Linked DNA regions of Homo sapiens: regions 1, 2, 3, 4, 6 and 7 are each linked to region 5. Evidence: promoter capture Hi-C in 16 types of primary human blood cells and fetal thymus (Javierre and others, 2016). All regions are on one chromosome and are shown on one strand. The core of a region is centred on a gene start or on the middle of the fragment in contact, and the rest is flanking DNA. Distances in the headings are between cores, read along the strand shown.

Region 1 (3,521 bases), core at 17-2,516, 470 kb after region 5:
TACTTGTGTTGGCCGGGCACGGTGGCTCACGCCTGTAATCCCAGCACTTTAGGAGGCTGAGGCAGGTGGATCATGAGGTCAGGAGATCGAGGCCATCCTGGCTAGCATGGTGAAACCCCGTCTCTACTAAAAATACAAAAAATTAGCCAGGCGTGGTGGCGGGCCCCTGTGGTCCCAGCTGCTTGGGAGGCTGAGGCAGGAGAATGGCGTGAACCCGGAGGCAGAGGTTGCAGTGAGCCGAGATTGTGCCACTGCACTCCAGCCTGGGCGACAGAGCGAGACTCTGTCTCAAAAACAAAACAAAACAAAACAAACAAAAAAACAGCAATACTTGTGTTGTAGGTGGTTGTACTGATTAAACAAAGTTTGACAGAGGGTTCAGCCCATAGTAGGTACTCCAAATGTTCCTTTATTATCATTGTTATTATTATTAAGGAGTGTTCTGCCACATCAGAGGTTCTACAGGGCAGAGAGTCAGGGTCATGGTGGGAAAGGGATCAAGAAAGCTCAGGTGGGTAGGGCTGGGTTGGGCAGGAAAGGAGTTGGAGAGGAGGCAGGAGGGAGTTTGCGCAGGGAGACAAAGTGGCTAAGAATTGTCTTGGTGGGAGGGAATGAGAGACAGACCAGAAGGCCCTATCTGACCTGCAGTGATGGGGCATTTGCACTGGGGAGTTTCTGGGAACTTTTTCTTCCCCAGACTTTCTCTGTTTTTACTGTTTGCTTGGCTACAGATTACACAGGCAAATGAGCCCAGGCTTCCAGGGAAATATTCCATTAAAGCAATCAAAATAACAATTTGTATCACTTTTAGAACTTCTGCCTGAGGAGCTAAGAAATCTTTGTACTAAATTATTAATTCTGGGTTGTACTGTAAGGATCTTCCCCTACAAACAAACAATTTAATATTTCCTTTTTGGTGCAACAGAGGACGAGTTCTCCGGTCTCCCAGATCTGCCTCAAAAGGAGGGAGGAGGTATTTAAACCCAGACTGTGATACTTCTAAGGAAACTGCCTAACAGAATGTGTCCCGTCCCTCTCGGAGGAAGGGATGGACTGTCAGCCTCGGTAACCTTGTTCTCAGGGACACTCGCCGCTCCCACTTATGGTCGGGCTGCACCTGTGCTGGCCACATGGCAAGGCGGTAAGAGCCAGAGCTCTGGAGTCCCTGGTCCTGGAACCTGGCGTGCGTACCTGCTGGCTGTGTGATTGGGATAGTTTGCTCCCCCTCACTCAGCATCAGTTTCTCCATCCACAAGAGGAGGGTAGCCATGCCGATATGCTAGCACAGAGCTGGTGTGAGGCTCCCGTGTGTCTCCAAAGTCTTGGACAGTGCCTGGCACGTGGGAGACGTTCAGAGGATGTTATTTATTATTATTTGCATTCTCAGGGAATGTCTCAGTGATATAGACACGGCTCTGCCTTTCACCAGGGGCAACGGGGGTGGGGTGCACAGAGAGTGTGTGGGGAGGAGGATGAGGAAGAGGGTGCCAGGTAGGGAAGTGGAAAGAGGAAGAAGAGAAAGAACAAAAGCATGGAGACATATGCATATGCGTTCAGTCTGGGAAAGGGAGAGTAGTTTCAGGTGGCCAAAGTGTGAGGTGTGCTGGGGGTGGGGGTGATGGTTTTGGAAATTCTGTTAAAAATATATATATATATGTTCACACACACATATGCGTACAAATATAATATAATGAAACATCATATAATATGTAATACAGTAATGTAATATCTGGACAGTGCATATCCTTAAATACTTTCACTTGAGACCATTTGAGACCAGCCTGGGAAACAGAGCAAGACCCCATCTCTACAAAAAAACTAAAAGTTAGCCAAGCGTGATAGCTACTCGGGAGGCTGAGGTGGGAGGATCACTTGAGCCCAGGAGTTCAAGGCTGTAGTGAGCCATGATCATGCCACTGGACTCCAGCCTGGGTGACAGAGTGAGACCCTGACTTTAAAAAAATAAAAAATAAATAAACAAATGAATACGTAAAATTTCAGGAAACTGAGGAAATGGTACTTGATCCAAAGCAAGGTTTAAAATTTTTACATTGCATTAGCCTGACAGGACATTTATGGTAGGTTTGGAGCCACAGTGTAATTTTTCATCTTTTAAACATCAGGGCTTGTCACTTTGGATGTTGGAGTATGAGGATCAGTGATGGGCCTGATGGTGCTGCCTCTGGAGCTGCCAGGAAGGGGAACGTTGCTTCCATAAGGGACATCATTTTAGGAACAGGCATATTTATTTATATGGGCTCCTCTGAATAAATTCATTTATGAATAGAATCTGGATGTCAAATTATAGCACATGGAATAAATCTGGAGAAATCCTGTGATATATGTGCCCTGGGGGCAGCACTATTCACTGTTATCCTTTTTCTGGGCTTCTGATCCTGTTTAGAATGGGTTTTTGGGATTTGGAAAAAGTAATCACTTCCCTCCTGTTTTGGCCCTGCACGTGGCTGAGTCATCATTTTACACTGTGGCTTGGGGGTTAGGAGCAAAGGAGCGGGAAGCAGCCATGGGGCTTTCCAAGTTGGTTGGGCCCTGCCTGCTGGTGGTTGGTAAAGAAGTTGCCTCAACTGTCTCCTGGGGATGCTTCCAGGCCAGCTCACCAGTGGATTTCAAGTAACTCAAAATGGACTTAAACCGCAAAGTGTCCTGGTGACCGTAACCTATCTCTAGCACGTAGTTTTCCCTTCCATTACTGGTAGTCAGAAAGCGCATCTATGCTGTGGGGCAAAACAACTCAGACATGTTCACACATGGCCTTGAGAGACAAACCTCTCATTGCTTTGGAGAAGCTTAGCTACAGGAAAATCTTACAGGACAACTGACATTGGTCATTAGATTCCCCTCATGGGCAGATTTGAGGTCAAAATTTCCAGAGGTTTCAACCTGATGAATGTGGCCCAGGTTTTGGCTGGTTGTGGGGAATCTTATTTTCCAGCACTACACACTGAGGTCAGCTGCTCGGGTTTCTCTTGATCTCTCAGTGGTTCCCATGAAAAGTTCCCTGATTTACAAATTCGAGCTGTCCATCTGTGCACCGGGAGAAACACACGGAAATGCTCGAGGCAGCGCTGCTTGGCATTGCGGAGTTCCTGAAGCTCAGGGGCAGCTGGGCCATGGCCCCTCTGCGAGCCTCAGGGAGTCACTTCCTGATGGAGCACTGCATCCTGACGGAGCACTCCTCAGGGAGTCGCTTCCTGATGGAGCACTGCATCCTGACAGAGCACTCCTCAGGGAGTCGCTTCCTGATGGAGCACTGCATCCTGACGGAGCACTCCTCAGGGAGTCGCTTCCTGATGGAGCACTGCAGAGTTTCCTGCGTGCTGTTCCTTTAGGGGGAGGTATATGTGTGCATCTTGGTGTAGAGAACTCAAAGCTGAACACTTTCTAGCCCCTGACCATGCTGTTTTGTAACAATAGAGTACAAATGATGTGCCAGGCACTGATCTGGGCAGTTTGCCTGTATTAACTCATTAAATTCTCTCAACAGCCCTGTGAGGCGGAGA
Region 2 (3,620 bases), core at 792-3,291, 510 kb after region 5:
CCACCCAGCATCCCCTTGGGATAGCATATATTCACAGTGCCCCTTTACTCTCCTGAAATTACATTCATTAAGAATGTAGGTCTGTCTTCACAACTAATTTCAAATAAAATCAAAACAATGCCCTATGAGGTAAATGAGATGAAAGCAAAGTTATGTATAATTAAATAATATGTACTATGATATGTATATGCTCTGTATGTTTAAACTGCAAGACATAATGAAGGTGTCCAGGGCTTTCCCCGTGCACAGAATCACAGTGAATGCAACAGCCCCAGACATAGCCTTACACACAGGTATGGACTAGGGACTAACACTAACTCATCCTGCCAGCGTGATTTTACAAATAGGTGAGGAACCCTTGGCAAAGTTCCAAGTAAAACAAAGTACAAGCTTTGCTCCATTTACACGGTAGTTGCATTCCTAGAAAATTCAGTGTATATTAAAACCATGGAAATTGCAAGTTCACATTTATATGTAAATGAAGTTCAGTTCTAGATTCAAATACTTGTAAACGGATTTCTCACGTACCTGAATGTTTGGCAGGACAGGAGAGTTGTGAAGAATGGAGAAAAAGTCTTCACTGTGTGGGATTCTTGCACTGCAGGGCAGTAACACCCCTCAGGCAGGGAGAAGCCCCCATGGATTTTCAAAACGCCCTCTGGAGGTGCAGTTACCCACCCCATTGAGAACTGTTAAACACCTTGAAGGAATGCCCCCAGGAGCTGTTGGGGGGTGGGGGGCTCTGTTTCACCACACGGCATTCATCTAACTCCACCTGTGTTAGCGGATGTGCTGACATAGTGCAGAGCTCTTCAAGGGACACTCAGAACCTTCCGGCCCCACCTCTCTCCTTTTCCCTCCCCACAAAGCCCAGAGTGCTGTAGGTGCCCAGCTGGATGGTGAGCCCGGCCCAGGGCTCTACCTGGGGTCTGGGGAACAGATGGCTTCTGCGCTGCTCTATCTCAGCCCTCACACTCTGGGCTGCTCAGGGAAGATCTCATTAGAGAGGGATATATATGCCGCATTAAATATTAAGTTAAACACCTGCTCTACCAGCTAGGGCCACAGTTCTGAAACTGCTCACCATTTGCAAACTGGTGACATGGCCAGCCTGTTACTGCACTGTCAGCAGTTTGGGCCTGTCCTGATTGGGACTAATTATCTGCAGGTGTCTCATTGGGCCACAGGCCTGCTGATGGGGGAGCCACTGTGCCTACCTGCCAGAGAGGACAGCGGGTGGGGCACCAGGCTCCCCACTTCTGCTCACCTCTCTACTGGTGAAGGACTTAGCTGGGTCCACCTGACCTTTTGCCTGAGAGAACAAAGGAATGGGGCCAGACTGTATCTTGCTGGCCTTTTTCCCTGAGGAGCATCTCTTTGCATCAGTAAGTTGGCATGTGAGGAGGAGACAGAGAGAGGCCTCCTGTGGGCCAGCAAGTTTGGGAAACACTAGCCTGGTAGGAGACCTGGGCCCTGGGGACTGAGGCTCCCCCTGGGCACTGCCCCTTTTTAGTAGCGGAAATACCCACAAAGACAGACAGAATGGCTGCCAAGTCCCTGAGTCCACCTGCTCTGATTTGCAGTATCCCTCAGGTTCAATGTTTGGAGTCTCAATACCCAAAACTTGGCAGCCAAAGAAAGTCCACCCTCTTCTGGCTTTTAATCTGAGCAACAGCCAAGGGCTGAGGGAAAGAGCACTGGAACAGGAGTCAGAGGAACAGGTTTCTGTCTGGACTTTGCACCTAACTGGTCCTGTCTTTGGACACATTGGTCATCCTCTTCTCTCCAAGCTCATTTCCCTATCTATGAAATAGGGGTGGTAATTCTGCCCCTGCCTCCCTTGGCTGTTTCAAGGATAAAATGAGCCAGTGGGAGGAGGGGGATTAAGAGCCACCGAAGGGGTGTCTGAGTGTATGTGGGCAGTTGTGGAGAAGGAGGCTTGGAGGAGTTTGGGATCCAGCTTTGGCGAGTCCCAGCCTTCCTCAGAGCAGACGTTCTGACCATACCTGGGTAGGGTGGGAGGATCCTGTGGTCCCACTACTCACTTCACAGCTGGGGAGGCTGAGGACAAGAGAGGGAAGTGACCTGCTCAAGGCCACATTTAGTGAGTGAGAGCTGGAGCCCCAGTTCTAGCTCCCCCAGGGCCCTGGCTTCCACAGCCTACTGCCATTATATGATGAAATGGACTAAAAAAATCCCAGTTCAAATTTCCTGAAGGCGTCTCTTTCAGTGTGCAGTTGAGAATGTCAGCAGGGAAGCCAGATTACCAGAGCTGGAAGCCCACTTCACCGTATTCTAGCTGGGTGATCTCAGGCAAGTTACTAATTTCTGGGCCCAAGTTTCCCATCTGTAAAATGGGCCAGCACTAGAGTTTTCTCACAGCTTCTGGCAAGGATTATATGAGCGGACCTTGCAGAGTGCTTAGCACAGTGCTTGGCAGGTGGTAAACACCCCATAAATGGTAGTTATTACTATGTGTCTGGGCTCTTGTCCAGAGTCCCTTATCTCTGCCCTGGGGGCATAAGACAAAGAGACATTTGCCCAGCGACAGCTCTCTACGTGGGGATGCTCTCCGAAGGGTCCTGATCCCGCAGAAATCCTCAGAAGGTGGTGGAGTCTTGGAGACCCCGTCAGGATGTCTGGCTGAAGGGCAGGGGTGGAGAGCTCTGAATTTTTTCCACTTGTTTAGAGTCCCAGTGTCTATCATTGGAAGCAGGGACATCCACTGTGTGTTTGGGGATTTTGGGGAAACAGTAAACACTGCATGGGGTTGCTTTCAGCCTGTGAACCCACGGACTCCAGACCTGGGGCGTCTCAAGGGCTGGGGAGCCCAGGCTGGTTTCGGCTGCGTGGTGGAGACCCTCTGCTGGGCTGAGTGGCTTTGGGGTTTTCCTCCTCAGGAAATATGTTCTGCCTCCTCTGTCACAATCCCCTCTGGCGGGGTGCCAGGCAGCTCTGAACAGCGATTTGTTCATTTTTCCATGGGGCATGCCTCCTTTGACCCATTTTTATGAGCCTTTTTGAGGCTCATGAGATGCAGTGAAATACCTCTTCTCTCAGAGTGAAATCATAATGAATAATGAAAGCAAAAATACAAGAACACCTTATGTATCCAGGCTGCCAAAAGGCGCTGTAAAAAATTACAACAAGAGCTACAGTGCAGGATGATACCCTGCAACTGAGTGTCGGCCACGGGGCCGTCCTCGGAATTCCATGGAAGATGCTGGGCTGGCTATCAGAGTTGTTCTGTGGGCCGGGCGTGTGGCTCATGCCTGTAATTCCAGCACTTCCGGAGGTCAAGGCGGGAGGACCACTTGAGCCCAGGAGTTCGAGACTAGCCTGGGCAACATAGGGAGACCCCCCCGATCTCAAAAAAAAAAAAAGTTGTTTTGTGCATTGGAAAGGAGATAATATCAGTAGTTACAGCTTATTGGGCTCTCGCTCTGTGCCAGGCCGGGAGTACCATGGTGCCCCTGGTGGACAGTCCCTGCCCTCACTGGGCTTACTTGTGGGGCAGAACCAGGCAATTTACAGTAAACACAGAATAAATTTGCAATGTAATTTTACCAGGGCATGTGCTCTGAAGAAAATAAGTGGGAGAGAAGAGAGAGACTCAGGGA
Region 3 (3,222 bases), core at 553-3,052, 450 kb after region 5:
ATCTGTTTGTTGGTTCATTCTCACTGAGTACCCACTGTGTGCGACACCAGAGGCAGGACAGAGGGTCCCCTCTTAAGACCATGCGCCTTTTCAGTCAGAGTACTTATCTTGGTTGATACTTGTACCTTTACTAGTCCGATTATTTTTCAGTTACTGTTTGCCACCTCCTCTGGACATAACTCCATGAGGACAATGGCTGGCTCAGCTTTTGCCCATCACTGTGTCCCTGGCATTAGCACTCACTAAGCTTGGTGGAGGGAAGAATGATGAATGTGTGAGGTCAAATGGAGGGATCCTGACATTTTCAGACAGACATGCAGAGTGATGGTGCTTGTCACACTTGTCACAGGTAGTACCAATTCATTCATTTATTCCACAGATATTCGCTTTGGAGGAGAGAGAGATGAATTACCTCCCACCTTTACCCCGAAGGTAGCTCATAGCACAGTGTGGGAGTGAAGGGCCCAGGGGATGTGGTTCCTAAAATAAGGGAGAAAGTGGTCAGAGCCCTAAGAATGGGAGCTGGAGGACCAGCTGGGGCATGAAGGAAGGCATCCTGGAGGAGGAGACATGTGTGCTTCTGGCTGTGTCTGGAGAACAATGCCCGTGTCCATGGGAGATGGTTTCCATTCCATATGGGCACAGTGAATCACCTGCGGCTGAACAGGTGACTCAGCAGATCCACCTTCAAACACCCACAAATGCAAGCTCCTACCTCCCCTGGCCCCTAGTTTCTACCAAAAGAGGAGGCTTGGGAGCAGAGTTTAGAAAGCATGGCCTGACCTGAAGGAACGAGCGATTCGGGCCCTGGGACTGAGAAATGTGGAGGGCACATGTTTCCCCAGCCCTTCCCGTAGCTCCTCAAGACTCCTGCAGCAAGGCTCAGATCCTCTCTCTGGCCCCTGGGGCTGTCTGGCTCAATCCCTCCCAGCCTCTCCAGATTCTCCTGGGGCCTCTTCCCTCTCTCCCTCTGTTCCTTTCACCCCCTTCTCTCAGGGCCTTTGTACGAGCATCTCCTCAGTCTGGCACCCTCTCTGCCCCATCCCCTCTCCCTGGTCACTCCTCACGGTTCCATGCAGTTCCTCTTGGAGACTTCCCTGATTCCTCCCACAGGAGGCCACTCCCCTCTCCATTACACATGGTCACATGGATATATTTTTATGCTCTCTTTTCACCCTAGCATCAGTCACCGTTGTTTGTAATCCTATGTTTATTCCTGTGATCACTTGACTAAAGTGGGCTGCCCTCTCTAGACTGGAGAGAGAGAGGCTTGTCTTGGTCATCACTGTATCCCCTGTTTTTGTTTATTTTTAAAATATATTTACTTAAAAAATATTACCTGATACAGAGTAAATATTTTATCAATATTTGTTAAACCAATGAATAACTAATTATGTGTTTTGGAGTGTCCAAATCCTTCTTAAGGAAATGACAGACACTATTGCCATTATTTCCCTAGTAAAGAAAGCAAGCGAGGTGCTGGTGGGGTGAGAGTGGTGAGGGGAATCGCGGGACAGGGTGAATGCCCGGAGAGGCAGGCTCTGCCCAGCTCGCAGCCCTTCGAGGGCAGTCCACCCACCTCGGCCTCCCAGGTGCCAGAATTACAGGCATGAGCCACGGCGCCTGGCAGCCTAGATATCCTTACAGGCTCAGCTGGCAGAGGCTATGGCTGACTCTCAAAGAACCAGAGCAGGACGCAGCCAGTCTGCTTCTGGGGAGACTGCAGAGAGGGGCGCGTGTCCAGCGAGGCTGCCTGTGCTGAGTCTGTGTGGTGTCCTCAGGGGGAGGGTCTCCTAACACCCCCTGTGTGTACACTTGAGGGCCTGTGTGCCCTGAGCCTTTACTCTGTGCTGGGCTCTACTGGGTGACCAGACAGTGACCTTGCCCCCAGGGGCCCTCAGTGGAGCCACCCTCTCTGAACTTTGGGCTCTGAGCTGTGGAAAGAGCCTGGCCCATGAGTCCCGGGGGAGAGGGATCAAGCCTGAGGACTCCTCTGGGAGGATGGCCTGGCTGGCTGAAGAGACGCCCCCTAGAGGGGCAGAGTTGAGGGGATCTGATGGAGCAGCCTGGGTGGGCCGGAGGAGCTGGGCACTGCCCTGCTGGGGACAGAGCCAGGCCTCAGCGGGAGTTGTTAGGAGATGGCTGACAGGAAGGAGGTTTCACTGAGTTTTGGGCCCGGCTGGCAGGGTCAGGGCTGGGAAGTATAACTGAAGCTGGTGGAGGGAGAAGCTCTTGAAAGTGGATGGGCCCCTTCTGACAAGGAGGAACTTGGTGGTGTCCTGGGGACCAAGGCCCACGTCATGCTTTAGCAAGAGTGACTGGGACCAGGATGACTGGGCAGAGCCACAGCTGAGTAGGAAAAACTGAGCCATCTTTCCTGGTGTGCGTGTGCGTGTGCATGTGTGTGTGCATGTGTGTGTGTGCATAGAACCTTTGAGAAAAGGATCATTTGGTGGGTGCTGACCAATGGAAGAACACTGCTGGGCAGATAGACTGGGCCGTGAGCTCCCATACCTGCTAGTCTAGGTGACCTTGTGGGAATGGTCCCCATGGGGATGGGCCATGATGGGAGAAGGGTCTCTGAGGATGATGTCCTGTGGGCAGGAGCAGGCACCTGTCTTGTGGAAGGCCAAGGTCATGGGCTGCCAGAGGAGGGGCCTAGGCTTCAGGCTGGGGAACGTTGGTCAGAGAGACCAACTTCTGCCTTGGCCCACATGTGGGGGTATCTGGTCACTCAGGCTGTGGCCCAGCCTACAGTATCCTCTTGGGTCAAAATTGGTGGGGAATCCATTTTCTCAGAGGGCTCATGAGCTGCCTCCGAAGGCCCTTCCTATAGAGGATGCTGGGTCCTCTGAGCCTGTTGACTTCTACGAGGGATCCGAAAGGCCAAAACTCAAAGCTGCTATCTTTGTTCAAATGTCAGCCCTGCATTGCAGTTGTCCCCAGATAAGTACAGTTGAGGAAGCATTGACTTCTGACTGAGTCTTGGTGACACCACATCTCACTGCTTCATGGTCTTTAGTCTGGCCTCATTCCTCACATGGGTGGGAGCTTGACGTGACGGATGAAGTCTAGTCTAGGGCAGCAGTGCACTGGTGGGGGCAGGGGTCAGACAAGGCCTTGAGTAAGGGCACCTTTCAGCATGAGAGCAGACCCACGCTGGTTTTCCCCAGGGCTTCCTGACTGCAAAGGCAGATGCCTCACCTCTGGGCCTGGGTTTCA
Region 4 (3,194 bases), core at 242-2,741, 390 kb after region 5:
GGCCCTTTTAGCTCTAAGAATCTAGAGAACCTGGGTTTGTAGGCCTGAGCTCAGCAAGAGAGGCTGGGGGTGGGGGTGTCACTGGCTGCATCCCTCAGGGCGTCCCGCACTCCCGCCTCTCCAGTAGGTGTGCAAGCCGCCATGTTGAGTCTGGGCCGAGGATCTGAATTCTGGTTATTTCCGACCCACTGGGCGCCATCGGGTGAAGCCAGTGCAGGAAGTCTATTCCATCCCAGTCCCTCTCTGCTGTTGCGATCTTCCTGCTCCAAGGCCGGGGGTGAAAGGGGAAGATCCGGACAGGCGGGGTTCCAGACAAAGAAGAGATAACGCCGCCACTCCACCCCGGCGCGCACTGCAGCCTCCTGGGTCCCCAGAGTCCCGCCTGGGGCCGTTTTCCGCAGCTGTGCCCTGGTGGGGGGTGGGGACGGGTGTCAGCGCCGGAAACTTGTCTACTGGTCAGGGACAGCTGGGTGTGGAACAGGGACAGAAGGTGGGCCCAAGAGTCGACCCCAGTGTAGGAGTTTGAGAAGTAGAGCATGCGTAGAGAGAAGGCAGAGGAAGGGAAACCGAGGCAGAGAATAAAACAAGAGGATAACCCAGGAATCCTCTCATGATCAGCCTGTACTCTTCCTTACAAGCCCAGTCCTGGAGCAGGCATCTCAAAGCCCTTGTTTTGTGGATTTATGTTTAATATTAGCGGATCATCACTCATGAAATAGAAATTGAGTCTTCGGACCACTCCCATGAGTTGCTGGGGCAAGGGAATCCTCAGCGTCGTTCTTGAGCCAGGGCCCAGATGGCTCACAGAACTATAGCTTCTTGGGTGAAGAATGACTGTCACACGCTTCCTTTTCAAGGTCCAGTTTCTTTGATTGTTGTCTCAGAGCCTTAAAACCCACAAAGAAGCGGACTCGCTAGTCAAAGATCCCTTGTGTAGCAAGAGAGTTCTGCTACAAATCCATCCATTTTGTCTACATAGGGACAGGAACTTCCCCTGTAGAGGGAAGGTCAGTTTCCCATCAACTGGAAGCTGCCGCATTGCAGCGCGCCTGGCCGCTTTGCTTGACCCTTGCAGATAGAATGCGCCTGTCCACCCGCCCGCTTCAGGGACCCTTATTAGCCCTGGACGCGACTTGGCTCATTCGGTTCTCAAGAAGCCTTGAGCCGGGTGCGGAATTTCTCCGGTGGACAGAAGCGCAACACCAGCTCCCAAAGCCTCTGGCAGTTCCTGATCTGAGGCAGGAAAGAGGGCCAGCCACTCTGCTTGGGCAACCTGGCCCAAAGCCTTAGCCCCTCCACCCAGGTGCGCCCTGGTGCGCCCCAGTTACTAACTTTAAAGGAGTGTGAGATATTCTCCCCCTTCCCCCAACGTCTCTGCCTTTCGTTAATGCAGCAATGAGGGCCCTGCAGGTGGAGTGAGGGAGGAGGGTGGACGACGAGGAGCCAGTGGTGGTTTAGTAGGTACTTGATAAAATTAGGAAATAAAATTAGGAAATATTTCCGTGGAAGGAGCCTTCAGTAAAATCTAGTTAACCCCACTCTGCCCATTTTACAGAAGAGGAAAGTGAGGTCAGAACTGGCAGATATGCACACACTCCGATGCACACAATCCGATCCCATCACGAGCCTGATGGTACAGGATCCCTACTGCGCTCCTTGTCTTCCTCCAACATACATTTTTTGTTTTTTGGTTTTTTTGGAGACTTCCCCCATTCTCACCCTTCAATCGACTGCTCTCAAGCCTTGAGAGCGTCCCAGGATCCCAGCATCGCTGTGGGGAGGTCCAGCCCGCGTGGGACCCGCAGCGGGACTCTCCAGGCACTGCGTGGGCCCCTTTCCCCTCCCCACAGCCGCGATCCACTAGGCCTTAGTCCAGCGCGTTTGTCAATGAACGTGGCGCCGCCGCCTGGGCCCCGCCCCCCATTCTCTCCCATTGCCCAGGTGTCCGCTAATCAGGCGGAGCCTGTGGGCTGCTTAGCCAATGGGGCGGTGTTTCGGGCCAGGGCCGGCTGACGCCACTCTGATTGGCTTGGTGGAGCGTGATTGGCAGGTTAGCCCCCGCCCCGCCCCCGCCCGGAGGGAGCTGAGCCCCGGGCGGCGCTGTCCACACGCAGCGGGTCCTGAAAGCGGCTCCGGGGCGGCGCGGTGGCGCACTGTGCGCGCCGAGCAGGCGGAGGGCTAGCGACGGCGGCGGCGGCGGCAACGCAGGCAGTCAGAGCCGACTGCGGCTCCATCTCAGCCCCGGCAGCCCCGGCGGCCTTGGTGGCTGGGACCCTCTGCTCTCTCCTCTGTTCCTCACTCCACGCCTGGGGCAGGCACGGCGGCCGTCCCGGAAGAGGCAGCGGAAAGACAGTGGAATCAGACCCACGAGGGAGGGCGGCGGGGCTCGAAGAGTTGGTTGGCACGAGGTAGACACCCCGGCGAGGAAGAGTCCGTCGCTGGTGTCCCCGTTCCTGGTCCCAGCGATGGGCGAGCAGCGGGGGCCGCGGGAACTTTGAAGGCAGCGGGTCTCAGTGTTGGAGGGCTGCACGCTCCCGGGGACTCCGGAGTCGCGGCCCCAGCGTCAGGGGCGGAAGCATCTCCAAACCCGCCAGGACCCCGCGCTGCCGGAGAGGAAGTTCTTTGCAACTTCGTCCGAGACGTCGGAGAGCCAGTTGGAGAGAGGCGGAGGGGGCAAGTCCGAGCCCCAGAGACTCGGAGAAGCAGAGAAAGAAAGGATCTGGCGGAGACCGAGGGGTCGAGGAGGGACCTCAGAAGCATCGAGGCCGCGGAACCAGCCTGGCAGCCCCCGGGTCTCTCCGCCCCCTGAGTGAAGTCAAGGGCCGATTGTTCCGGCGGCCTCCTCAAAGCTGCTCCTTCCTGGGGCCGGGGGCTGCTGGCTGTCCCGGAGGCGGGCCCCTACGCTATGCCCCCGAAGCCGCGGGCGCCTTGGCCGCAGCTACCCCGGGCTGGGCCCGGAGCTGCTGCTTGAGCCAGCCAGGGAGGGAAGCCAGCCGGAGTTGGGCACCCGCTCCTAGCCCGGGTGCGCTAGCACCATTTCCCGCCTCTCCGCGCAGCTCCGGGCGGTCTCCAGCAGGGAGGCTCTGAGAGAGACCCCGAAGCTCCAGCAGTGTTTTCTGAGCCCAGCTCGCACAGTGCCTGGCCTGGTGGCGAGGCTCCCTATCCGCCCTGGGCAGCCCCTTGGCGCCGGGAGG
Region 5 (3,615 bases), core at 496-2,995:
AAAACTCTCATAGTTGGACTGGGCCAGGAAAGATAAGGTCAAGGCCACCCAACGCTTCCACGGCAGCTCACAGCAACCAGATATTTGTCCCAGTGATGCACGGTGCCTCCTGGCCCTTGCCATGGAATTCAGTACAGTCAGCACGTGTGGAGCCTCTATGTGGCAGGACACAGGATAGCTACTTGCACCTCCTGACTGAGCCCAGGGCACTGACCACCTTTCATCCACCTCCCCATGAGCAGGGTACAGCGTGAGCTACTGTTACCATGGGCGCGGTTGCTGCCTTCCACCTTCTCCTGCTCAGTACAAAGTGGGTCCTTGGCAAAGGTTTTGTTGCAGTGAACAAAATTTGAAAATCTCATATGCCCCTAGAACTGGCTGCTGAGGCTGGATTGCATCCTCTTCCTATCTAACATTGGAAACACAAACCTGATCAAATGCAGTGATCAGACAGCAGTCAGACACTTCTGAGTACAAGCCCCAGCTCCTCCACCTGGGAGCTGCATGGCTTTGGGAAGAAACTTAACCCTAAGTCCAGCCTCCAGTTTTTAATCTGTGCAATGGGAATTATAATACTGACTTCACAGTGCTACCAGGATTAAAAGTTTATGTATATGAAGCACCTGGCAAGGTTGGCCCACAAAAAGGGTTCCATTTAGCAAGGGTGGGCCAGGTGCAGTGGTTCATGCCTGTAATCCCAGCACTTTGGGAGGCTGAGGTGGGAGGATCCCTTCGTACAGGAGTTCAGGACCAGCCTGGGCAACACAGTGAGACCCTCGTCTTTGAAAAAAATAAAAAATTAGCCAGGCATGGTAGTGCATGCCTGTAGTAGTCCCAGCTACTTGGGAGGCTGAGGTGGAAGTATCTCTTGAGTCCAGGAGGTTGAGGCTGCAGTGAGGTATAATGGTGCCACTGCACTCCAGCCTGGATGAGAGTGAGACCCTGTCTTAAAAATTAAAGGGTCCTCAGGCCAGTCATGGTGACTAACACCTGTAATCCCAACACTTTGGGAGGCTGAGGCAAGAGGATTGCTTGAGCCCAGGAATTTGAGACCAGCCTGAGCAACAGAGTGAGACCCCCATCTCTACAAAAAAAAAATCAGAAAATTAGCCGGTAGTGATTGTTTGCGCCTGTAGTCCCAGCTACTCGGGAGGCTCAGGTGGGAGAACTGATTGGGCCCAAGAAGTCGAGGCTGCAGTAAGCCACGATCGATCGAGCCACTGCACTCCAGCCTGTGCAGCAGAGTGAGACTGTCTCAAAAAAAAAAAAAAAAAGATAAGTAAATATAAAGAAGAAGAGTCATCAAAGCCCCCTGCCAAACGTCCAAGGGCCTGGTCAGTGACCGCCATGTCCCTGACCCCACATGTCCTGTGGGAGCGTGGAGAATTAGCCTGGACCTTGCCTCAGGGGCAATCTCCCCTCTCCAAAGCCGGAACTGCAGGTCCCAGCGTCGTCTTAAGAGGAGAACTGGGCCCCAGAGAACTTTCTCCGAGACTCCCCAAAACTCCAAGCCTGCCCCAGCCGGCCACAAGGCCCAAACGCCCCGCCCGGCTCTCCGGTCCCTGGGACCGCCCTGCTCCCTCCTCCACGGCGCGCGAGGCTCTTACTCTGCCGCCCGGGCGAGCGCGACCCTACCCTCGGCGGGTATCCTGCGGGTGACGAACACCTTCATGAGTCGCACCGGTCTCATCCGCAGTGCAGCCGCCGACCCGGACCTGGCAGTACAGAAGCTGGCCCGGGAATGTAGCTGGGCCGGGGCGGGGCCAGGCTGGAGTGGGCGGGAGAGACGTCGCGCGCGGCGTGCGCAGGGGGTGTGGCTTCGCGAGAGGGAGCGCCGGGTTGCGGCTGAGCGGTGACTGTGCGTGCTCGGGGAGTGACAGTAACAGTGACCCTACACAGTGTCCTTGTGTGTGTGTGGGGGGGTGCGCCTCGTGCCACTGGGGAATCAGGGCCCCGGGGGAGAGGGGGCAGTATCCCGTCCAAGGCCTCATGGGAGCCCTGCTTTTTCTACACGCTCAGGGTCCTGTTTCCACAGGCTCAGGCCTTAAGAGACTGAAAGCCCCCACTTTTTCTGTCTCTTGGGTTGGCCCAGGGTAGAAACCCAGGTTCCAGGCTGTGAGGAAGTCCAGGACACACAGAGAGGTCACGTGTAGGTGTTCAGGCCAACAGCACAGCCAGGGGCCCGGCTCACAGCCACCGTCAATGACCAGAGGTATGAGTGAGGAAGCCTTCGGGTGACTCCAGGCCAACTCCCACCTGACTACAGCTAAAACTGCAAGAAAGAGCCTTTAGGAGAATCACTGGCTGAGCCCAGTCAACCCCGGAACCATAAGAGATGATAATGCACTGACTGCTGTTGCTCTAAGCCGTTCAATTTTGGAGTAATTCTTTATGCAGCAATAAATAAGTGATACGCTATGTGTGCGAAAGCCAGAAGCCATAAGAGTACAACTAATTCTCCATTGAAAAATTAACCGTACCATCCTGAATGCATCTGATCTTGGAAACTAAGCCTGGTTAGGGCTTGTATGGGAGACTGCCTGGAAATACCAGGTGCCTGGAAATACCAGGCTTATGTTTATCTTAAAAAAAAAAAATTAACAAAATCATAAGACAACAAACCGGGAAAAATACCATATATTTGCAACTCATTTTATAGACAAGGGGTTGATTTACTTATTGCACAAATAGTTCCTAAGACAAAGATGCCCAGCTTATCTGAATAAGCAAAGGATATCAATGGACAGTTTATAGAAAAGAAAATGGCCTTTAAATGTATGGCTGGGCGCGGTGGCTCATGCCTGTAATCCCAGCACTTTCGGAGGCCGAGGCAGGCGGATCACTTGAGGTCAGAAGTTTGAGACCAGCCTGGCCAACATGGTGAAACTCTGTCTGTACTGAATATACAAACATTAGGTGGGCATGGTGGCACATGCCTGTAATTCCAGCTACTCAGGAGGCTGAGGCAGGAGAATTGCTCATGAGTCCAGGAGATGGAGGTTGCAGTGAGCCGAGATCCCATCACTACACTCCAGCCTGGGTGACAGAGTGAGACTCCATCTAAAACAAAAAAAAACAAAACAAACAAAAAAAAAAAACAAAAGATGAAAAGTGCTCAACTTGACTCACAAAAGAACTGCATATTAAAATTACAGCAAGATACCAATGTAAAAAATAATACATTGGGGAACCAGGTGCTTTCATACGTTGCTGGTAGGAGTGTAAATCAGCAACTTCAATAAGAAAGTTTGGCAGTAGCTATCAAAGTTTAGACTGCACATCTTTTTTGACCCAGAAATTTTGCTTTTAGGAATTTACCTTACAGACGCGTTCACACATGTGCAAAATGCCATCTGCCAAAGGCTCTTCATTGTGGCATTGTTGGAATAGTAAAATATGGGAAACAACCTAAAGGTCCACTCATAGGGGACTGTTCATTACGTATGCTTCATTCCCACAGTGAAATACTCTGCATCAATCAAAAGAGTGAGGCAGCTCTGTGCGTACCAGTGTGGAATGATCTCCAAGATGTACTGTCCAGTGAGAAAACAGGGTGATGCAAAGTGCATATGTTACCATTTATAGGAGAAAGTATATGCCTATTCTTTTTTTTTT
Region 6 (3,154 bases), core at 33-2,532, 410 kb after region 5:
TCTCCACAACAGTCACAGGCCTGGGTGCCACCTGTGGGGCCCCTTGCAGCTTGGCACAGTTGGACCCCTGGGTTTTGAATTCTCGGCATAGCTGATGGCCCAAGCTTCTTACTGCACTGATGGCAGTTTGATCAGTGCCATAGATGTGGGTGTTTCTTCAGCCTTATCTTCCTGTTTCCTTTTTCAAGGCACCATGATTTTCTCTTTCACTGTAATTTTGTGAGGACTGGTGGTGGGGCGGGGGGCGTGGGATGATGGTGAGAAGCCTAGCCTTTCAAAGAAGGAAGAGTGATGTTTCCATGGGATCCTTAAATGCCACAAAGTCCCTCAGAGTTTTAAACCTCAAATTCTAAGTGGGTTTGAAATCCAAATAGCTTTTATGCCTCACATAGGAAGTATTTAGCAGAGGGACCGCGCTTCCTTTGAATGTGGCTTAAAGTAAAGTGCTGGGGCATGGGGGCTGGGAGTCTGGGCTGACTCGCTGTGCAATTCTGGGCAAGTCATTTGAGCATCTTGGGTTTTAGTTTCCTTATTCATAGGAAGAGTTTGATGCTGAGCTCCTTTCTCTGTTGGAACGTCTAGTGTGCTCTGCAGTACGGCAGCCAGGGTCCTGCTCACGCTCAGCAGGTAAGGGACGGGCAATTTGGTGTGACTGCCAACTCAGCCCAACTGTCCCTGGCTTAGAAAAGGTCCTGAGTGTGTTCTTATTGGATGAGTCTTGACAGCCTGTCATATTTAAAATTTAAAATTTGTTTAGAGTTGTTATGATTCAATTACAGTCTTGTTCTTCCCACTACAGTTTCTTCTCAGTGTAAGCTGATGCTCTTTGTTTTTACTTGGTGACTGCTAAAGGCAGATGAGCAAAATCTCTCACCCCTGGGGGCAGCTTCAGAGGCTTGCCTATAACTCTGAGATCCCCCTTTATAAAGGACAACCCTGATGCATTCTTAAAACAGTGTGAGAGTGGCTACCTTCCCCTCCCCAGCTTCCAAGGGGGCCACTTGTGCTTTATTATTATTATTATTTTTAATTTTTATGGGTGCATAGTAGGCATATATATATATATTTATGAGTACATGAGATATTTTGGTACAGGTATGCAATGAGTAATAACCCACCATGAAAAATGGGGTATGCATCCCCTCAAACATTTATTCTTTGTGTTACAAACAACCCAATTACACTCTTTTAGTTATTTTTAAATGTACAGTTAAATTATTACTAACTATAGTATCCTCATTGTGCTATCAAATACTAGGTCTTATTCATTCTTTCTATTTTTTTGCACCCATTGAGCATCTTTACTCCCCCACCGCCCTCGCCTTGTGCTTTTTAAAGCAAATGTGAAAAATATGAATATTTTAAGACGGAAGCTAGTCATTAATCTTTACAAAGACACCACTGAAAATAACATCTTACATTTAAGGAGCACCTAGTATGTAGCTACCACTGTTTTAAGTAATTCATTAATTTAATCCTAATAGTAATCCTATGAGATAGAAATGATTCTTAGTCCCATTTGCAGATGAAGAGACTGAGGCATAGAGAGGTTAAGTAATTTACCCAAGGTCATGTAGCTGGTAAATTGTAAGAGGGATGGGATTCAAACTCTAGTGGTCTAGTTCCAGAGCCTGTACACTGTGCTACTGCAGCCTCTTAATGATTTATAACAATTGATAATGCTTTCCCAGTGATATTTATAACTATTTTAAAAGAAAATGAGGAAAACATAATTTTCTTTGCTTTTTTACATACAAATTTAATAGTCAGACAATGATTTGAAAAGTAAGGATTTTAAGCTGAACTACAGTGACTTTTTTGCCATATATTTATTTGTAACTATATTTATGTCTGGTATATCCATATATTGACATATCCAGCAATATCTCTGTAGACACATACACACAGAGAAAGTGACATACACAAAAATATAAACATTAGGTCAGATGCCAGCTTACTTCCAGGTGACCAAAAAGAGAACCTCACTCCCAGAACTGGACATTTTATTATGACCCACTCTTCTCCCAAATGCCATGAGTTTTCTGGTTGTCCAATATGCTTCGAGTTTGCTTAGTTAAAATAAGTGGTTTGAATATTAGGGAAAACAAACAAACAATCTGAATGTATTTGAGGGAACACTTAAGCTGACTGATTAGAAAAGGGCAAGAGGCTCCTTGCTGAGCTCAAGTAGCCAGGCTCCAGATGGCCTGTGTGTGTGTGGTGAGACTATAGGGTGAACAGAAAAGACCATTTCAGGCTATCAGCTGAGGACACGGACTGCCCTTGGTGCCGAGCACCAAGCTGTAAGATCAGAAAGGGCAGAGAGGCTACTGCCCATTGAGTTTAAGGGGAGGCACCCACCTGCTACTTCTGTCATTCTTCATTTGTATAAGCTGGAGACCCAGTGCAGCCTCAGAATAAACTTTCAGATATTAATGGTCTGGAATGTGAAAAAGCTTCTCACAGAATGTTGCATGAAAAGAGCAGGCTGCAAAACTGTATACATGGAGGCTGAGTGCGGTGGCTCACGCCTGTAATCCCAGCACTTTGGGAGGCCGAGGAGGGCCGACCACTTGAGGTCAGGAGTTGGAGACCAGCCTGGCTAACGTGGTGAAACCTCTTCTTTACTAAAAATACAAAAATTAGGCAGTGGCATGCGCCTGTAGTCCCAGCTACTCGGGAGGCTGAGGCAGGAGAATCAGTTGAACCCTAGGGGCAGAGGTGGCAGTGAGCTGAGGTTATGCCACTACACTCCAGCCTGGGTGACAGAGAGAGACTTCGTCTCAAAAAGAAAAACAAAAAAGCAAAAAAACAAAAAAACTGGGCATGGTGGCGCATGCCTGTAATCCTAGATACTTGGGAGGATGAGGCAGGAGAATCACTCAAACCTGGGAGGCGGAGGTTGCAGTGAACTGAGATCGCACCACTATACTCCAGCCTGGGCAACAGAGCAAGACTCTGTCTCAAAACAAACAACCACCACAACAAAAAAAACTGTATACATGGCATAATCCTGATTTTGTTAAGAGAAAAATGGATATTTCTAAATATGCCCAGGAATGTTGGTATAAAGGAAATACACCAAAATACCGTTTTTAGATGTCTTCTTTATACTTTCCCATACTGTCCAAAGAGTCTACAATGAACGTATATT
Region 7 (3,174 bases), core at 636-3,135, 440 kb after region 5:
TCCTCCTGCCTCAGGCTCCCAAAATGCCAGGATTACAGGCTTTCTTTCTTTTTTAATGATCATTTTATTTATATTACTAAGTTTCATGATAGGATTGTTCAGCTTAGGGTCAGAAGAAAAGGAAAGAAATACCAACTGGAATTCATGCTGGCAGAATTTCAGCTCCATGTTTCTGAAACACAAATAATTCAAGTCGTAGCTGAGGGCAGCTGTCAGAAGTAAGGTGAGCCTGACACGACACTGGAGAAGCCTGGGTTTCTCATCCTGACTCAGCCGTGGCCTTGCGGTGTGGTCTGAGTCAGGTCCTGCCCTTCCGGAGCCTCGGTTAGGACCCACTGAGTCTGGACAACCCTTCCAGCTCCTGATCCTTTCTCCTCCCCCGCTCCCCGCCGCTCCCCCTCCCTCCTTCTTCATCTTCTCGCTCTTCGTTTCCTTTCTGTCTCAGACACAAACGCCATCCAGCACTTCTGAATAGTACTTTTGTTCCGTGAACATCTCTTTTCTGAAAAGGACGATTGGTCAGGTTTGTATCTTTTAACTGCTGGCACATTTTATCAGTTAAGAACCTGCGTACCTCCCTCTCGGGAGACAACCTTAAGGAGGCAGGCAGGCAGGCAGAGAGGCAGAGACAATGGGCGAAAAACAACTGTTTGGGGGCCTAATTTATGGTTCCTCCAGCAAATGCCTTCCTTCGTGGGAGCCCCTTTCCCCTTTCCTGCTCTTCCCCATGGCCCCGAGCATCTTCCAGCAGACCCCAGTGTATGACTCCTTCCTAGCTCCCCAAAGAATGGGGAGAGGGAACGAGCAGAGCCTGTGCCTGAGCCATCTCGTTCAAGGCCTTCAAGGCGGGGCTTGGAGTCCTGGCTTGGCACTCCCTTGCTGGTGATCTTGGGCAACCCATGCTGGGCCTCGATTTTCCTACTGGCACCAGAGAGAGCAGGACGCCTTCTTCAAATTCTTGTGCAAATTCGGCGAGAAGAAGTGCATGAGAAAGTGCTTTATAAGCTGTAAAGCTCTCTTGCCTATGAGAGTATCATTGTAGTTCATCTCACATACCCGCTCTGTGGCAAGGGACACATTTCTGAACATCTCCAAGGGTCGGTTTCCCCATCTGTAAAATGGGGACTATATACTTAGGTCATACAATTACTGTGAGAATTCCATAACAGAGGCAAAACACCTGGTACAGTTCTTGGCAGTGGGAGGTGCCCAGGTCTAGGCTGGGCCGTTTTCCGTTTCCCTTTCTTATTCCTCCACAGCGCCTTTCCCTGAATGCAGCGTATAGGCACGCAGCCGCAGGCGTTTGAAACCCAACTGGCCACTCTCTGGCCTGCACCCCACTTCGCTCCTCTGTAGAAGTCGGACAGTAACAGTATCTGCTTCGGAGGGCTGTGGGGGAAGATTAGACTGTGCCCATCCGTGGCTCGGCACAGCGTCAGCACCAGGTGAACGCTGGTGATGCTGCCAGGCCTTCCTCCCTCTGGACACCCAGGCACTGGGCATGGGCTGGACGGGACCCCGGCCACCATCTCCTTCGAGCCTACTCGTGGCCGGTGAAGAAAGCCAGGCATGAGAGGAGCAGGAAGCGAGTCGCTCAAGGGCGCACCGAGTCATATCCCAAGATCTTTGAAGGAGGTCCAGGGATCCGCGGTGCCACCGTGAGAATACAGCTCGGCAGAGAGGCCGAGGTCCCTGCGGGGAGGCCGGTCCCTTCCTCCTCGGCCCCGCGGTCCGGGCGCCCCGTGGGCCTAGCTCCCGCCCACCGGCCGGGAGTCCTCGGGGCTCGGGCTCCGACGGAGGAGTCCCCAGGGCCGGGGGCGGAGGGCAGACGACTTCCAGGAGGTCACCTGGATTTCCTGCGCGACGTGGAAGGAGAAATGAATTCAGCTGCGGCCGAACGTGGCGCAAAGAGAAGGCTGAGCGCGGCGCCCCCGGGAAGGAGGCCGCCCGCTCGCGCCGGCCTCCGCCAAGCATTTGCAATTTAATTGACATTGGCGGCAGGAAGCCAATCAGTCTAAGTCAATTGACGTTCCGAGATAAAACTAATCGGCGGCCGGCGCTGCCCCCGCCGGCGCGGCCGCGGCGGGGCCCGGGGCGCAGCGTGGAGGCGGCGGCGCGCCCTGCAGGTCCCAGCGCTGGCGCGTGGCTCGGCCCGCTGATTGCCGCGCGGCCCGCGGCGGCCAGGAGAGGCCCGTAATGAATGACTTTATTTGCCGGGGCCCCGCTGAGAACAATTGAGTTTGTTATGCTAACAACGGATGCCAGCTTTCCGGGGCCCCGGGGGGCGCGGGCGCGGCGGCAGCCGGGAGCTGGGCAGCGGAGCAGATGATGCGCGCCGGGGCGAGGGCGCCGGACGGGGGTGCCGGGCGGGGGTCGGACGGAGCTGGCGTCGGGACCCGGCCTGGAGGGGCGAGGCCGGTTCGGATGGCGGACGCGCAGCGTGGAACCGGGATGGGAGTTCTTGATCATTCCTTGATGTTGGACAGGCAGGTCCTCCTGGGTGCGACTGCCACTCTTTCTTCCCTCTGTCCCCGAGCCTGAGTGGGGGTTCTGATCTTGCTGGATGATGCCCTGACATAAACTTTTTTGTCTCTTGCACCGGTGGAAAATTAGAAAAAGGCACAAACACAAAGGCATCACTTTTTCCAGTGACCTGCTGTGGCTTGGGAAGTTCGGGACTGGATTTTGACCCTGCCACGTGTGCTTTGCGCCCTGGAGGGAAGGCCTTCCTTCCATCTCTGTCCCCTGTGTGTATCCCCATGCTCTGTGGCCAGGCGCCGGCCTCAGAAAGCTCTTCTTGCCCTACACAGAAGGCTGCCTCATGGAGATGGCTGGCTCTGAGGCCCCACAGCCTTCTCCTGCCTCCCCCTTCGGACCTTGAGTTCCAAGGGCAGAAGTCGTCTCCCATTCGTCCCAGACGCCCTCAGTGCCCAGCATAGGGCCTGGCACACACGTGGAAGTAGTAGTGAGGGAATGGACTTCTCTCTTCTTTGCGATCTCTTGCTTTCCCTCTGGTTGCAGACACCAGAGTCCCCTTTTCCAGTTCTGTTTTCAGGCATGCTGGCATTCCCTCACTCACTAAACAACTGAGAACCAACCTTTCATCCAAAAAAGCCCTGGCCAGGGAGAGATAATGTAACCCGTGTGATGAGTGTGTGGCAGGCACCTGCTATG

Evidence for each region. The method cuts DNA at HindIII sites, captures the fragments that hold promoters and counts their contacts. A CHiCAGO score of 5 or more calls a contact.
Region 1: a contact is called between a fragment that was not itself captured here and the fragment with the promoter of GRHPR in region 5, in 1 of 17 cell types (total B cells). The highest score is 5.1, in total B cells.
Region 2: a contact is called between a fragment that was not itself captured here and the fragment with the promoter of GRHPR in region 5, in 1 of 17 cell types (total B cells). The highest score is 6.4, in total B cells.
Region 3: a contact is called between a fragment that was not itself captured here and the fragment with the promoter of GRHPR in region 5, in 1 of 17 cell types (naive B cells). The highest score is 6.4, in naive B cells.
Region 4: a fragment that was not itself captured here is called in contact with the fragment with the promoter of GRHPR in region 5 in 3 of 17 cell types (total B cells, naive CD4 T cells and megakaryocytes); the score reaches 7.9 in total B cells.
Region 6: a fragment that was not itself captured here is called in contact with the fragment with the promoter of GRHPR in region 5 in 3 of 17 cell types (naive B cells, M1 macrophages and total B cells); the score reaches 7.0 in naive B cells.
Region 7: a fragment that was not itself captured here is called in contact with the fragment with the promoter of GRHPR in region 5 in 5 of 17 cell types (naive B cells, total B cells, endothelial precursors and 2 more); the score reaches 10.4 in naive B cells.

What each region holds. Positions count from the first base shown.
Region 1 is chr9:36,945,849-36,949,369 of GRCh38, reverse strand. All of the region lies in intron 6 of PAX5 (paired box 5), which reads left to right. Among named protein-coding and RNA genes, the nearest start is that of MIR4476, 54 kb to the right of the region's middle. RefSeq lists an enhancer at 1,187-1,711. The HindIII fragment of the contact is 3,086 bases long and covers 1-2,809 here.
Region 2 is chr9:36,911,091-36,914,710 of GRCh38, reverse strand. The region is part of intron 7 of PAX5 (paired box 5); the gene reads left to right. Among named protein-coding and RNA genes, the nearest start is that of MIR4476, 19 kb to the right of the region's middle. The HindIII fragment of the contact is 3,297 bases long and covers 393-3,620 here.
Region 3 is chr9:36,968,109-36,971,330 of GRCh38, reverse strand. All of the region lies in intron 5 of PAX5 (paired box 5), which reads left to right. Among named protein-coding and RNA genes, the nearest start is that of PAX5, 65 kb to the left of the region's middle. The HindIII fragment of the contact is 3,105 bases long and covers 250-3,222 here.
Region 4 is chr9:37,026,613-37,029,806 of GRCh38, reverse strand. All of the region lies in intron 1 of PAX5 (paired box 5), which reads left to right. It overlaps LOC105376031 (a long non-coding RNA gene), which reads right to left and starts at 1,862. Exons shown (of 2, transcript XR_929590.3): 1 at 1,720-1,862; 2 at 1-887. RefSeq lists enhancers at 1-339, 610-789, 364-1,038, 1,841-2,135 and a silencer at 1,810-2,269. The HindIII fragment of the contact is 6,093 bases long and covers 1-3,194 here.
Region 5 is chr9:37,420,826-37,424,440 of GRCh38, reverse strand. It overlaps GRHPR (glyoxylate and hydroxypyruvate reductase), which reads right to left and starts at 1,745. Exons shown (of 9, transcript NM_012203.2): 1 at 1,608-1,745. The coding sequence starts at 1,690. RefSeq lists enhancers at 1,148-1,773, 1,774-2,399 and a silencer at 1,784-1,933. The HindIII fragment of the contact is 7,938 bases long and covers 1-3,615 here.
Region 6 is chr9:37,007,709-37,010,862 of GRCh38, reverse strand. All of the region lies in intron 3 of PAX5 (paired box 5), which reads left to right. It overlaps LOC105376032 (a long non-coding RNA gene), which reads right to left. Exons shown (of 4, transcript NR_188579.1): 4 at 1,811-3,154. Among named protein-coding and RNA genes, the nearest start is that of PAX5, 25 kb to the left of the region's middle. The HindIII fragment of the contact is 2,352 bases long and covers 107-2,458 here.
Region 7 is chr9:36,985,265-36,988,438 of GRCh38, reverse strand. All of the region lies in intron 5 of PAX5 (paired box 5), which reads left to right. Among named protein-coding and RNA genes, the nearest start is that of PAX5, 47 kb to the left of the region's middle. RefSeq lists an enhancer at 980-1,935. The HindIII fragment of the contact is 5,123 bases long and covers 1-3,174 here.